2 separate regions of the Homo sapiens genome follow, and region 2 is linked to region 1. The links are contacts of gene promoters, found by promoter capture Hi-C in blood cells and fetal thymus (Javierre and others, 2016). All regions are on one chromosome and are shown on one strand. The core of a region is centred on a gene start or on the middle of the fragment in contact, and the rest is flanking DNA. Distances in the headings are between cores, read along the strand shown. Region 1 holds the start of MYO3B-AS1 (MYO3B antisense RNA 1). Region 2 overlaps UBR3 (ubiquitin protein ligase E3 component n-recognin 3).

The links. The method cuts DNA at HindIII sites, captures the fragments that hold promoters and counts their contacts. A CHiCAGO score of 5 or more calls a contact.
Region 2: a fragment that was not itself captured here is called in contact with the fragment with the promoter of MYO3B-AS1 in region 1 in 2 of 17 cell types (megakaryocytes and endothelial precursors); the score reaches 7.0 in megakaryocytes.

The regions. Positions count from the first base shown.
Region 1 is chr2:170,348,082-170,354,498 of GRCh38, forward strand. It overlaps MYO3B-AS1 (MYO3B antisense RNA 1), which reads right to left and starts at 2,862. Exons shown (of 4, transcript NR_110576.1): 1 at 2,798-2,862. All of the region lies in intron 8 of MYO3B (myosin IIIB), which reads left to right. RefSeq lists an enhancer at 6,008-6,417. The HindIII fragment of the contact is 2,320 bases long and covers 2,335-4,654 here.
Region 2 is chr2:169,937,652-169,944,068 of GRCh38, forward strand. UBR3 (ubiquitin protein ligase E3 component n-recognin 3) reads left to right here. Exons shown (of 39, transcript NM_172070.4): 20 at 4,842-4,983. Among named protein-coding and RNA genes, the nearest start is that of UBR3, 110 kb to the left of the region's middle. The HindIII fragment of the contact is 2,551 bases long and covers 1,141-3,691 here.

The DNA.
Region 1 (6,417 bases), core at 1,612-4,111:
CCTGAGTTTGAGACCAGCCTGGGCAACATAGCAAGACATTATTTCTGTGAAAAAATTAAAGCAAAATATAATGTTTTTAAAGTTCATCCGTGTATCAGTACCATGTATCAGTATTTCGTTCCTCTTTATGGCTACATAATATTGTGGTGTTGTTGTTGTTGTTGTTGTTGTTTTGAGATGGAGTCTCGCTCTGCCACCCAGGCTGGAGTACAGTGGCACAATCTCGGCTCACTGCAACCTCTGCCTCGCGGGTTCAAGCAATTCTCCTGCCTCAGCCTCCAGAGTAGCTGGGATTACAGGTGTCTGCTACTATGCCTGGCTATTTTTTGTATTTTTAGTAGAGATGAGATTTCATCATGTTGGCCAGGCTGGTCTCGAACTGCTGACCTCAGGTGATCCTCCTACCTCGGCCTCCCAAAGCGCTGGGATTACAGGTGACAGCCACCATGCCCAGCCCATACTGTGTATATTTTGAGGCAGAATATCAACATCCTATGTACCTTTTTCACCTGGATATATGAAGAAAACCCAAGTCTGGCTACTCAGACACCTCCTCCATTTCCCCATGTCATTCTCCACATGGTGACATGGATGACCACACTGCTAAAATATCAGGTGCTCTCCCTCTCCCTGGATATGGAGTGTTTGGACATGGTCTTCTGCCCTCCTGATGCATGAGGCCAAAGCGCCCACAGGCTCTAGATGTAGGAGAGCTGGCTATAGCTTAGTATATGTGCTTTCCCTAATCCACTTCTAATTTGGGGTAGTAGTTTTGTTATCTGGCTTTTTCTGGCTACCCAGAACATTCCATCTTATAGGGGCCAAGTGTTTCTGGGTGATGATTCAGATCTCTGCTCCAACTAGAGCAGCAGCTTTCATAATACTCTCCCTGGATCTCATCACAAATTATCCTGCACAAAACAGTCAGTGTGATCTTTCTGAATCCCTAAACTGATCAAGTCATGCCCTACTCATAATTATTCTGTGTCTTCCCAGTGCTTACAGGGTGCACTAAAACTCTGTAACACACAAGGTCATGAAGGATCTGCCCCTTTCTATGTAATACCATTCTCTCCTCCAAACTCCCTGCACATTCTAGAAAAATTGAACAAGTGATGCTTCCCCTGACTTCCCCAGGAGGACTCAGAGGCCCCTTCCTTCATGCTTTTATGTCAGCGTTGTGCCTTTTACAGAACTTTATAATAATGGGGAGAGAGGGAGCATGTCAAGCCATCCTGGAATTATTTGTTTCTACGTCTGTCTCCCCACTCAAACTGTAAATTCCTTGAGAGCAGAGAATGTATCTTTACTGCTTCATATCCCCAATACCTAGCACAGTTCCTAGAACATGGCAGGAACTCAGTAAATATCCATTCCTTTTGAAGAACCACGAATTCTTTAGAGGAAGTGATACTCTTAAAATTATGCACCTCATGGCCGGGTGTGGTGGCTCATGCCTATAATCTCAGCACTTTGGGAGGCCGAGGTGGGTGGATCACTTGAGGTCAGGAGTTTGAGACCAGCCTGGCCAACATGGTGAAACCCTGTCTTTACTAAAAATGCAAAAATTAGCCGGGCATGGTAGTGGGCACCTGTAATCCCAGCTACTTGGGAGGCTGAGGCAGGAGATCACTGGAATCTGGGAGGTGGATGTTGCAGTGAGCTGAGATTGCACCACTGCACTCCAGCCTGAGCGATGGAATGAGACCCTGTCTCAAAAAAAAAAAAAAAAGAAAGAAAGAAAAAAATTATGCACCTCATATAATGGACCTAGATAGAAGTTGGATGTTAGAACTCATGATCTTTGGACAGTCTCTCCAAACGACAAACATAATGATAAGGAAGAGAATAAGGGGTGGCAAAAGTGGTCAGATACACCTTCCTCTCTCAATATACACACAGTATCCCAGAACACAACTGAACATTTTTTTTTCCTTTGAGATAGTGTCTTGCTCTGTTGCCCAGGCTGGATTGCAGTGGCGCGATCTCGGCTCATTGCAATCTCAACCTCCCAGGGTGAAGCAATCCTCTTCCCTCAGCCTCCCAAGTAGCTGGGATTACAGGCACGTGCACACCCAGCTAATTTTCTGTATGTTTAGTAGAGACTGGGTTTTGCCATGTTGCCCAGGCTGATCTCCAACTTGTGGGCTCAAGTGATCTGCCCGCCTCGACCTCCCAAAAACCGAAATTTTAACTGTAAGAAGAAACATGATAGGATTGTTAAATTGATAGCTACGTGGTTAGCTGTGGATTCTTTTTTGATTGCCTTAAATACATGAAAAGAATGTCAGAATGAATCCTTCATGGCAATCTCAGTGGTTATTCCTCTCCAAAAGCTTCTGCCCATTCCTTTTCATCTCTGCCTTCCCTTATTTCTCACCACCAGCTCCTTTATCACGTGGTTTAGAATTCCACAGAAAGATTGAAGAGAAGCCACTTCTGAACTCTGGATTATAAGAAACATCACCATTTGAAGGCTGCCTTAGGGAACTATGCAGAGATGATGGGTAAAAATCGAGATGTGGAAAAGTTCAAGGCCTGTGAATGCAACTTTACTTCCTCACTGTAAAATAAAATTAGGTTAAAATCAAGGTGTTGGCAGGGGGAAAAAAGATTAGGGGCACGTCTCACAGATGTTAATTTTGGCCACGTACCTTAATGTCTTAATACATTAATATGATACATACATTAATAGCTTAATAGCTTCACACTAATAGATCTTACTAAAGAAAAATGATTTAGGATGGTAGTAAGCAGAAGAAATGATTGGATAAATTTGAATTTGAAGGATTTTTGCCTTTAGATGTTTCCGTGGAAGATATTTTCTGTAAAGGTGATGCCTTAGGTTTATACTTTTCCAAACACAGGATATTGCTAGGCCACATATATAAAGAAAAGGCCAAAAACATATTAAGAAGGAAGGAAGGGAGAAAAGAAAAAAGGGAGGAAGGAAGAAGGAAGGCAGGAAGGAAGGGAAGGCAGGGAGGGAGGAAGGCAGGAAGGAAGGAAGTTAGTTATATTCAGAATGTTCATTGTGATGGATGAGAATGGAATGCTCATGAAGTGCTCAGCTGGGCTGAAGTCACAGGTCCGCAGGTATCAAGAGCAGTGGTGACTCCTGTGAGTAAAAAGACTAACAGGGCTCCAAACAAGATAGGATTCAGAGTTGAGACTCCTACTTGAAGCCAGTAAATGAGGTGGTTCATTTAGGCTGATAAAAAGCGTCTGGGAAAAAGAATGGGGTAGGGGAGAGGTTATGTGATCCTGTGCTCTAACTGTAGCAATTTCTTCCACATATTCTCCATCGTCTGGGGTGATGCTGACCATCACCCAGGACTATGACTTTTAGCCACCTTCTGGCTGAGGATGGTAGAAGGATATATAAGCAGCCAGGCCTGTGGCTGCCACAGTCATAGGCTCTTCCATATGCCCAATAAGACCATGGGACAGCAGCACAAAATGCCATTCTACAACCTGGCTCTGGGCTAGAGACCCAGAGAGCCAAGCAGACATAACCATAACATTACTAGAATAGGAGGGTGGGCAAAGGGGAAGTGAGAGGGAGAGAGAAAACAAAATCCTCTTCCTCCTCACCCTTTCAGTGAGCCTGCCAACTGAAATTTCAGAACACCTGAATAAACCTAAAGCTGAGGAAGACAACCCACCAAAACAACAAATGAAGCATAAATTCGTTTGAAATGAAACTAAATTCATGGAATAGTCTGAAGGATTAATGTAGATAACTACTAACTGTAAGAAGGAAAACAATTTGGGATAAAATACGTAAAAACTAACTCTAATCATACAGTTGGGGCAGGGACAGCATCCAGTGTGTGATTTAGGCATGCACAAGTTGTTTTTCTTTGTTTGGTTTTTTGTTGTTGTTTTTGAGATGGAGTCTCGCTCCGTCGCCCAGGCTAGAGTGCAGTGGCATGATCTCGGCTCACTGCAACCTCCGCCTCCCAGGTTCAAGCGATCCTCTTGCCTCAGCCTCCTGAGTAGCTGGGGTTGCAGGTGCATGCCACAACACCTGGCTGATTTTTGTATTTTTAGTAGAGACGGGGTTTCACCGTGTTGGCCAGACTGGTCTCGAACTCCTGACCTCAGGTGACCCGCCCTCCTTGGTCTCCCAAAATGCTGAGATTACAGGTGTGAGCCACCGTGCCCGGCCTAGGCACGCATAGGTTTTTGTACTCAGAAAGGGGATAGAACTACAGGAAAATTGACAGTTAAGCAAACATGTTAAACTAATTTGTAGTTAAGCAAATATGTTAAAACTATAGAAAAACAATGTCTAGTTTCTAAACCAAAAGAAGAAAGGGTCTACAGAAAATTTAATCAATCTAACAGAAGACAGGAAATGAGGAAAAAAAGCATTGGAGGAAAAGGTTGGTAAAAAGAGATTTCTATCTATATGACCATGCTTTTGAATTATCAGGCAGTCAGTTTTTCCCAAGATTTCCAGTACATAAGCAGTGGTGTACTGGTAAATGTTTAAACTGGCTGGTTGCGGATAGGGGTGGGAGTGGGGCTGATTTTCAGTGTTTACTCGTTTTCATGGTGTAAATATTCCCACCATAGCCAATTTCAAGCTATCAATCTGATATCAACCAGCTCACAGAATTCCTGAAAATGTTAACAGTAATGTCTAGTAAGCTTATGCATGCTGGTTCTAGGATACTATTGTTTACTCGTTTGGGATAGACAGGATTTCCTCATAGTCTTCCTACTGCATATAACTTTTGACAATAAAATAAAAAGATTCAACAATGAGATACCACTACATACCTATTGGAATGACCAAAATCTGGAACACTGACAATACCAAATGCTGCCAAGGATGTGGAGCAAAAGGAACTCTCCTTCATTTTTGGTGGGAATGCAAATGGTATAGCCACTTTGGAAGACAGTTTGCTAATTTCTTACAAAAGTAAACATATGCTTACCGTAGGGTCTAGCAATCGCCCTTTTTAATATTTACCTAAAGGAATTGAAAACTTATATACACATAAAAATCTGCACATGAATGTTTATCACAGTTTTATTTACAAGTGCCAAAACTTGGAAATCACCAAGATGTCCTTCAGTAGGTGAATGGATGAGTAAACTCTGGTATATCCAGACAATGGAACATTATTCACTGCTAAAAAGAAATCAGCTATCAAGCCATGAAAAGACATGGAGGAATCTTAAATTCATGTTACCATGTGAAAGAAACCAATCTGAAGAGTCTATATACTGTAGGATTCCAATTACGTGACATTCTGGAAAAGGCAAAACCATGGAGACAGTATGGAGATCAGTAGTTGTCAGGAGTTGTGGGCAGGGAGGGAGGGGAAGAACAGGTGGAACCCACAGGATTTTTCGGGCAGTGAAAATACTCTGTATAATACTCTACGAATGGATTACATGTCATTATAAATTTGCCCAAACCTATAGAATGTACAACACTGAGAGTGAACTTTAATGTAAACCATGGACTCTGGGTAATTACGATGTGTCAGTATGAGTTCCTCAATTGTAACAAATGTACAGGTGGGGGATGTTGACAGTGGAGAGGCTGTGCGTGTAGGGGGGCCGGGGTATATGGGAAATCTCTGTACCTTTCTCTCAATTTTGCTGTGAACTTAAAACTGTTGTAAAAATAAAGTCTTTAATAAAATAAAACAAATTCTCTGCATGCTACTTTTCTAACTGAAATCATAAGGGAATTTATTATGAAAACAGGACTTGGTGGCATTCTCTTATTAGAGTATTCATCATATGGTTATGGAAGGCTAGTAATTTATGATCCTTGCTAGCAAAGCCAGATCAATAAAGAGATAAATGTCCTCAGCACAATAGAATTTATATCATCCACATGATAATTGACCACTGTGTCACACATTCAATCATTCATCGCATTATCTGATATAACTAGCAGGAAGGGTAATATGTCTATGATTTATTATTAATGCATACTAGTATGAAATTCGTGATCCATCTAACCTGTTACCTGTCCTTGGCAACATAGTATGTACAGTTGTCTACTTCCAGTAATAGGATCCCGCAGAAAGAATCAGACAACCCTGTTTAATGCTAGGCATTGCCTGTTGAATTGGAAGAGATCCAAGAAGTGCCTGAGCTAGTGTTACTCCCTCTCTTCTTTTCTCTTCTCTTCCCTTTCTCCTTGTCATCAGTTCTGGTTCCTTTTTTTTGTTCTGTTTTGTTTTTCTTTCCCCAGAGCACAGTGGCCTGTCTAGAGCAGAGATGGGTGGGTAAGTGGTCCTAAAAGATCCTTTGATGTCACTGATTTGCTGCTATGAGTATATTTTGTGACAGTCATTCTGTATCACCTATCTATGCATGTCAGTGAATTAACAGTGGCTTCAAGCTCAGGACACACCATAATACCAGGGCGGGGAAACAGCAGGTCCC
Region 2 (6,417 bases), core at 1,166-3,665, 410 kb before region 1:
AAGTCTTTAATCCATCTAAGATGCATTTTCTATTGTTCAGTCTCTAGCTTTCAAGTTAGAGGCATTCCCCAGATGTCTGACAATGTTGACTGCTTGTTATTAAGAGTTCTTGAGTGCATTGGTGGAACTAGTAGATTCTGAATTTTAATATAGGGTGATTTGGGTAGGCAGGTTGGTTGAGAAGCACTTGTGTTAGATCTTTCTTTTTGGCCTGGTCAGATTCCTCAGGGAAGTATCCTCAGATATTGCCCAGAAGGAAATGGTATTGGTGCTATTATTCTGTAAACGGATTGAGAGACAAGGCCTAGGGACTCTGAGTCAAATACTTATATGATGATTTTAATCTCTCATCCTCATATCCTCAATTGTACTTGCTATTTGATCCTCCCCAGAGATGAGTTCTGTAGCCAAAATTCTGTTTCAGTGGTGGAAAGGCAGTTTTCATCCGATCCTCCTTATTTTAGCCCCTTGCCTTCCCACCTCCATTTATAAAGGTATCAGGTGCTGCCAATTTTGTTGCTCATTTTTTAATTGCACTTTTTATTATTGAGTTTTAAGACCTCTTCATATATTCTGAATACTAGACTTATCAGTTATATGATTTGCAAATATTTTCTTTCTCCTTTTTTTTTTTTTTTGAGACACTGTCACTCTGTTGCCCAGGCTGGTGGCATGATCACAGTTCTCTGCAGCCTTGGGCCTTCCCAGGCTCATGTGGTCCTGATTGGCTTCCCGAGTAGCTGGGACTACAGACATACGCCATCACACATGGCTAATTTTTGAATTTTTTGTAGAGATGGGGTCTCTACATGTGTTGCCCAGGCTGGTTTGATCTCTGCAGCTTAAGTGATCTGCCTGCCTCAGCCTCCCAAAGTGTTAGGATAACAGGCATGAGCCATTGTGCCCGGTCTGTAAATGTTTTCTGTCATTCTGTGGATTGTCTTTTTCACTTACTTGAAAGTGTTCTTTGGGTCACAAATGTTTTAAATTTTGATGAATTCCAATTTTTTTCTTTAATTTTCCTGTTTGTTGCCTAAATTAATTTAATTTTCCTTCTGTTGCCTAAATCAAGGTCACAGATACCTAAACCTATGTTTTTCCCCAAGAGTTTTATGCCTAAAAATATAAAACTAAAGCTGAAGCTTTTACATCAAATTCTCTGGTCGATTTTGAGTTAGTTTTTATGTATGCTGTGAGGTAGTGGTCCAACTTAATTCTTATTCATGTGGTGTTCCTTTGAGTTTTAATAGACCTTGCCTGTTCAACAACCTGGGCCTCATACATCTTTTTTTGTGGATAACTTAAAACTACACATTCACTTTCTTTAAAGGTTTTAGGCTTGCTTAGGTTATTTCTTGAAAAAAATTACTAAGTTATATTTTTCTAAGAAATCTTTATTTTACGTTTATATTTAATGATTAAAAAAATCTTCCTTGTGTTTTTATTCCTATTATTTATTTGTGTTTGCTATTTCTTATTTTGAATTAGGTGTCATATGAGATGATTATCAGTTTTACTATGTTTTCTAAGAACCAAGTTTTGATTGTCTCTCTCCTCCCACCCCCATTTTCTATTTCATTCTTATTCTTTTTTCCTCTATTACTTATTAACTTTTTTTTTTTTTTGAGATGGAGTCTCGCCCTGTTGCCCAGGCTGGAGTGCAGTGGCAGGATCTCTGCTCACTGCAAGCTCCATCTCCCAGGTTCATGCCATTCTCCTGCCTCAGCCTCCTGAGTAGCTGGGACTACAGGCGCCTGCCACCACGCCCGGCTAATTTTTTGTATTTTTTTTTTTTTTAGTAGAGACAGGCCTTCACCATGTTAGCCAGGATGGTCTCGATCTCCTGACCTCGTGATCCGCCCACCTCAGTCTCCCAAAGTGCTGGGATTACAGGTGTGAGCCATCGTGCCAGGCCTTTTTTTTTCCTTTTTTGAGACAGTCTCACTCTGTCTTCCAGGCTGGTGTGTAGTGGTGCAATCTTGGCTCACTGTAGCCTTTAACTCCTGGGCTCAAGCGATCTTCCCACCTCAGCCTCCTGAGTAGCTGGGATTACAGGGGTGCATCACCATGCTTGGCTAATTTTTGTATTTTTTGTAAAGACAGGGTTTCATCATGTTGCCCAGGCTGGTCTTGAACTACTGAGCTCAAAGTGATCTGCTTGCCTTGGCCTCCCAAAGTGCTGAGATTACAGGTGTGAGCCACTATGCCAGGCCATTATTATCTTCTTTCAATTTAGTTTGGATTGTCTTTTTTCCTTTTCTTGGATACTTGGTCATTGCTGTTGTTTCAGTGCATTTGGTTTTCATTTTTAATTACTCCCTTTTAATTTTTATTGTTATAGATTTTAAAAATATTTTTAATTGATATATCTTAGCCTTAACATTACCTTTTACACAGTATTTGAAGATACTTCTCTGATAGTTTCATACATGTATACAATGTGTAATGATCAAATCAGGGAAATTGGGATATTCATCACCTCAAACATTTATCTTCTTTTTATGTTGGGAACATTACAGTTCTTCTAGCTATTTTGAAATATAAAATACATTATTATTAACTATAATTTGGATGCTTAGTTGTTGATTTTTTAACAAATGTATGGATTTTAAGGCTATGTATTTCCTTCTAAGTACTACTTTAGTTGTGGCCCACAACTTTTTCTATATAGTTTAGGCTTTAAATTTTTCTGTTATGATTTTTAATGGCTTCTGAATTTCTAAGAGCATAGCGCCTTAAAATGTCTGCATGTCTGGAGTTTTGAGTTATATTTTTAAGTTGGTTTCTAGTTTTATTTGCTATGTGACAAGTGAATGTGGTTCATGTATCTGTTTTTTTGATATTTTTGAGATTTACTTTGCATTCTACATAGTCAATTTTTATAAATATTCTAAGCGCTGTTAAAATTATGTGTATTCACTACTTGTTGCATGTTGCCTTTGCCCATGCTTCTTAATTGTGTTGTTAAAAATCTTAAAACTGTTTACCAATGTTTTTCTGGCTCTCATTTAGATAAGTATGTTAATATCCTTTACTATGGTTGTAGATTTGTCGTTTTCTCTGTGTAATTCCCTCAAAATTTGCCTTTTGTATTATGAGGCTGCTATTACAGTTGTCCCCTCTTATCTGTGGTTTAGTTTTCTGTACTTTCAGTTACCTGTAGCCAATGGCTGTCCGAAAATATTAAATGGAAAATTCCAGAAATAAGTAATTTATAGATTTTAAATTATATGCCATTATAAGCAGGATGATGAATTCTTGTGCCATCCTGCTCTGTCCCACCTGGAATATGGATTGTTCCTTAGTCCAGTGTACCATGCTGTATATACTACTCACTTGTTAGTTATTGACATTGTCTGCTCCTGACATCCAGCCATCACATTGTCATGGCCTGATGATTCAGGATCACCTGAAGCAGATATTCCTCCTTCTGATGACATGTTGTTAGAAGGTCATTAGTAGCCCGATACCATGTCACAGTGCTTACCATCATTCACTTCACTTCATCTCATCACATAGGCATTTTATCATCTCATATCATCCCAAGAATAACAGGAGTGAGTATAGTACAATGGTCCCCCTCTTATCCTCAGGACATGTTCCAAGACCCACAGTGGATGCCTGAAATGAGGGATGGTATCCAAACCCTATATATACTATGTTTTTCTCCTACAATACATACCTATGATAAAGCTTAATTTATAAATTAGAGATAGTGAGAGATTAACAGTAATAACTAAAGATAAAATAAAACAATTATAACAATACTCCGAATGGCATCCAATTGAAAACCTGTGAATTATTTCTGGAGATTTTCATTTAATATTTTCTGACCATGGTTGACCATGGGTAACTGAAACTGTGGAAAGTGAAACTAGGTATAAGGGGGACTACTATACATAAGGTATTTTGAGAGAGAAAGCATGTACACATTCACCTAACTTTTATTACAGTATATTGCTGTAATCTATTATCACTTACTGTTGTTAATCTCTTACTGTGTCTAATTTATAAATTAACCTTTATCATAGGTATGTATGTGTAGGAAAACATAGTATGTAGAGAGTTTGTTATTATCCATATTTTCAGGCATCTACTGGGGGCTTTGGAACGTGTTCCCTGAAGATAAGAGGGGACTACTGTATTTGCATACAAGTTCATAATTATCTTCTTGGGGAACTTGTTCTTACATCCCAGAAGAGACAGACAAGCTAATTCATTCTCCTTGTGAGTTACTCTTTCAGTGAGGGTAAAGCCTGTCAAGGGTCTCAGCTTTAGATGGGATATCAGTTCTATCTCTGAGCCTTGTGTGAGCCCAACATACCTTGTGATCTGTTTGCTCAAGGACTTTAAAACCACTGGCACAGTGTTAGTGCTTGTCATTAATTCCTTCTTTTTTTCTGGTAACTGGAGAATTCCACTTTTGTGTGAGCTCAAATACGCATTCAAAAGATTACATTTATATTTTATCCAGCTTTTCCAACCATTCGTAGTGGGAGAATTTTCAGGTCGTCTATTTTGCTTAATCGTTACAGCTGGAAATTTCCTTGCTGAGTACTTCATGTGTATTCTTTCTGTTCATTTCTCTTTGTTAGCACTTTAAAGTTTATATATTTTTTAATTTTCAGCTTAGCTCTCTTTACTCATCTTTAGCCATTAGGAAAAGAAATAGTAATGTTCATTGTGTAGAGAATAGATACCTCTTTGGCATTTTAAGCAATTTGATTAAAAATAGCACTGCATAAAATATTGTGACAGAAATTGGTGTCTATAAATTACATTTAAACCACAGTTTGATTTTGAGGCTATCATCTAATTCTAGTTTTGTTTTATTTTTACAGTTTAAAACAGAGTGGAAAATTTCCTGGAAATCCCTGGCCTCCATATAAGAAAAGGACATCACTCCATCCTAGCTATAAAGGTCTTATGAGACTTTTGCACTGTAAAACTTTACACATTGTGCTATTCACTCTGCTTTACAAGGTACAGTAGTAATTTGAATAGAAAGACTAAGCTTAGAATTTATTTTCAAATAATAATCCTAAAGGATAATATTTACATAAAAGTACCACTTATAAAGCAAAGTGTATTTATGCATTTAAGATGTATGAAGATATGTTATAATCACATGTATTTGAAATCCAAGTTGAACATAACAGAATAGCTACAGCATTCTTTGTGAGAAACTATTTATCTTATCTAGCTACCGATAAAAGTATTTATTTATGGATTCTGTAGAACAGTAAGTGAAATACCGTGGAACTACAGGAGGTGTGGAATGAGCTACAGGGACCAAACAACCATCAGAACCCACTAAAATGACAAAACTAGAATGGCAGTTATGTGAGGCAGTGAATCTTAGGTTGGGGGGTTCTTTTTGCTTTTTCCCTCTAATCAGGAAAGTGACGTGGAAGGATTTGAGTGTGGTTTCTATGTGGCAAGATCAAAAATTGTTTTTGATAAACATTTTAGGAACTAACAAGATGATGCTTTTACTTGCTTGTTATCTAAAATTTGTTTTATTTTGGGATCTTCTCACGTAAGACAGATTTATTTGACTAACATTAATTGTGTACTCAAAAACTTGTGTGAAGCATAATATTGTATAGTATGTATGTGTGTATATAATAGGGATTTTTATAATCTCATCTGCATGAAAGATGAAAGAAGGCTGGGCGCGGTGGCTCACGCCTGTAATCCCAGCACTTTGGGAGGCTGAGGTGGGCAGATCACGAGGTCAGGAGTTCGAGACCAGCCTGGCCAACATGGTGAAACCCTGTCTCTACTAAAAATACAAAAATTAGGTGGGTGTGGTGGTGGGCGCCTGTAATCCCAGCTTCTCAGGAGGCCAAGGCAGGAGAATTGCTTGAACCCGGGAGGTGGAGGTTGCAGTGAGCCCAGATTGTGCCACTGCACTCCAGCCTGGGTGACAGAGCAGGACTCCAACTTGGAGGGGGAAGAAAGATGAAAGAAAAAAGAAAATAACTATACTCATGTAGATAATATAACTATATAGACATGATAAATGTTATGCAGGTAGATACAAAGAAAACCTATTGTTCTTCTTCCTAATTAGAATTTGAAAAATTAAAAATTAAAAGAAATTCAAAGAAAAATGAGAATATTTGTTATACAAATTTCCAATTACTATGTACAATCATTTAACACATTATTTAAGAAAGTATGTATTTAGTTAGGTAGGAATTTTATTTTTTTTCTTAATCTTATAATGAAATAGTACTTTTAAATTTCTATACTTCTCTTCCTTTCAACCCTACCCGTGACCAATTTTTCAGTGTACTTGTTTCTAAAGTTTTCCTGTTACGATTTTGGACAGGTGCCTCAAAAAACACCTTGGGTGGTTTATTTTCATTAACTTCCAAGAGGGTTATTCAGTAATTGATTTAAAATGCTCTT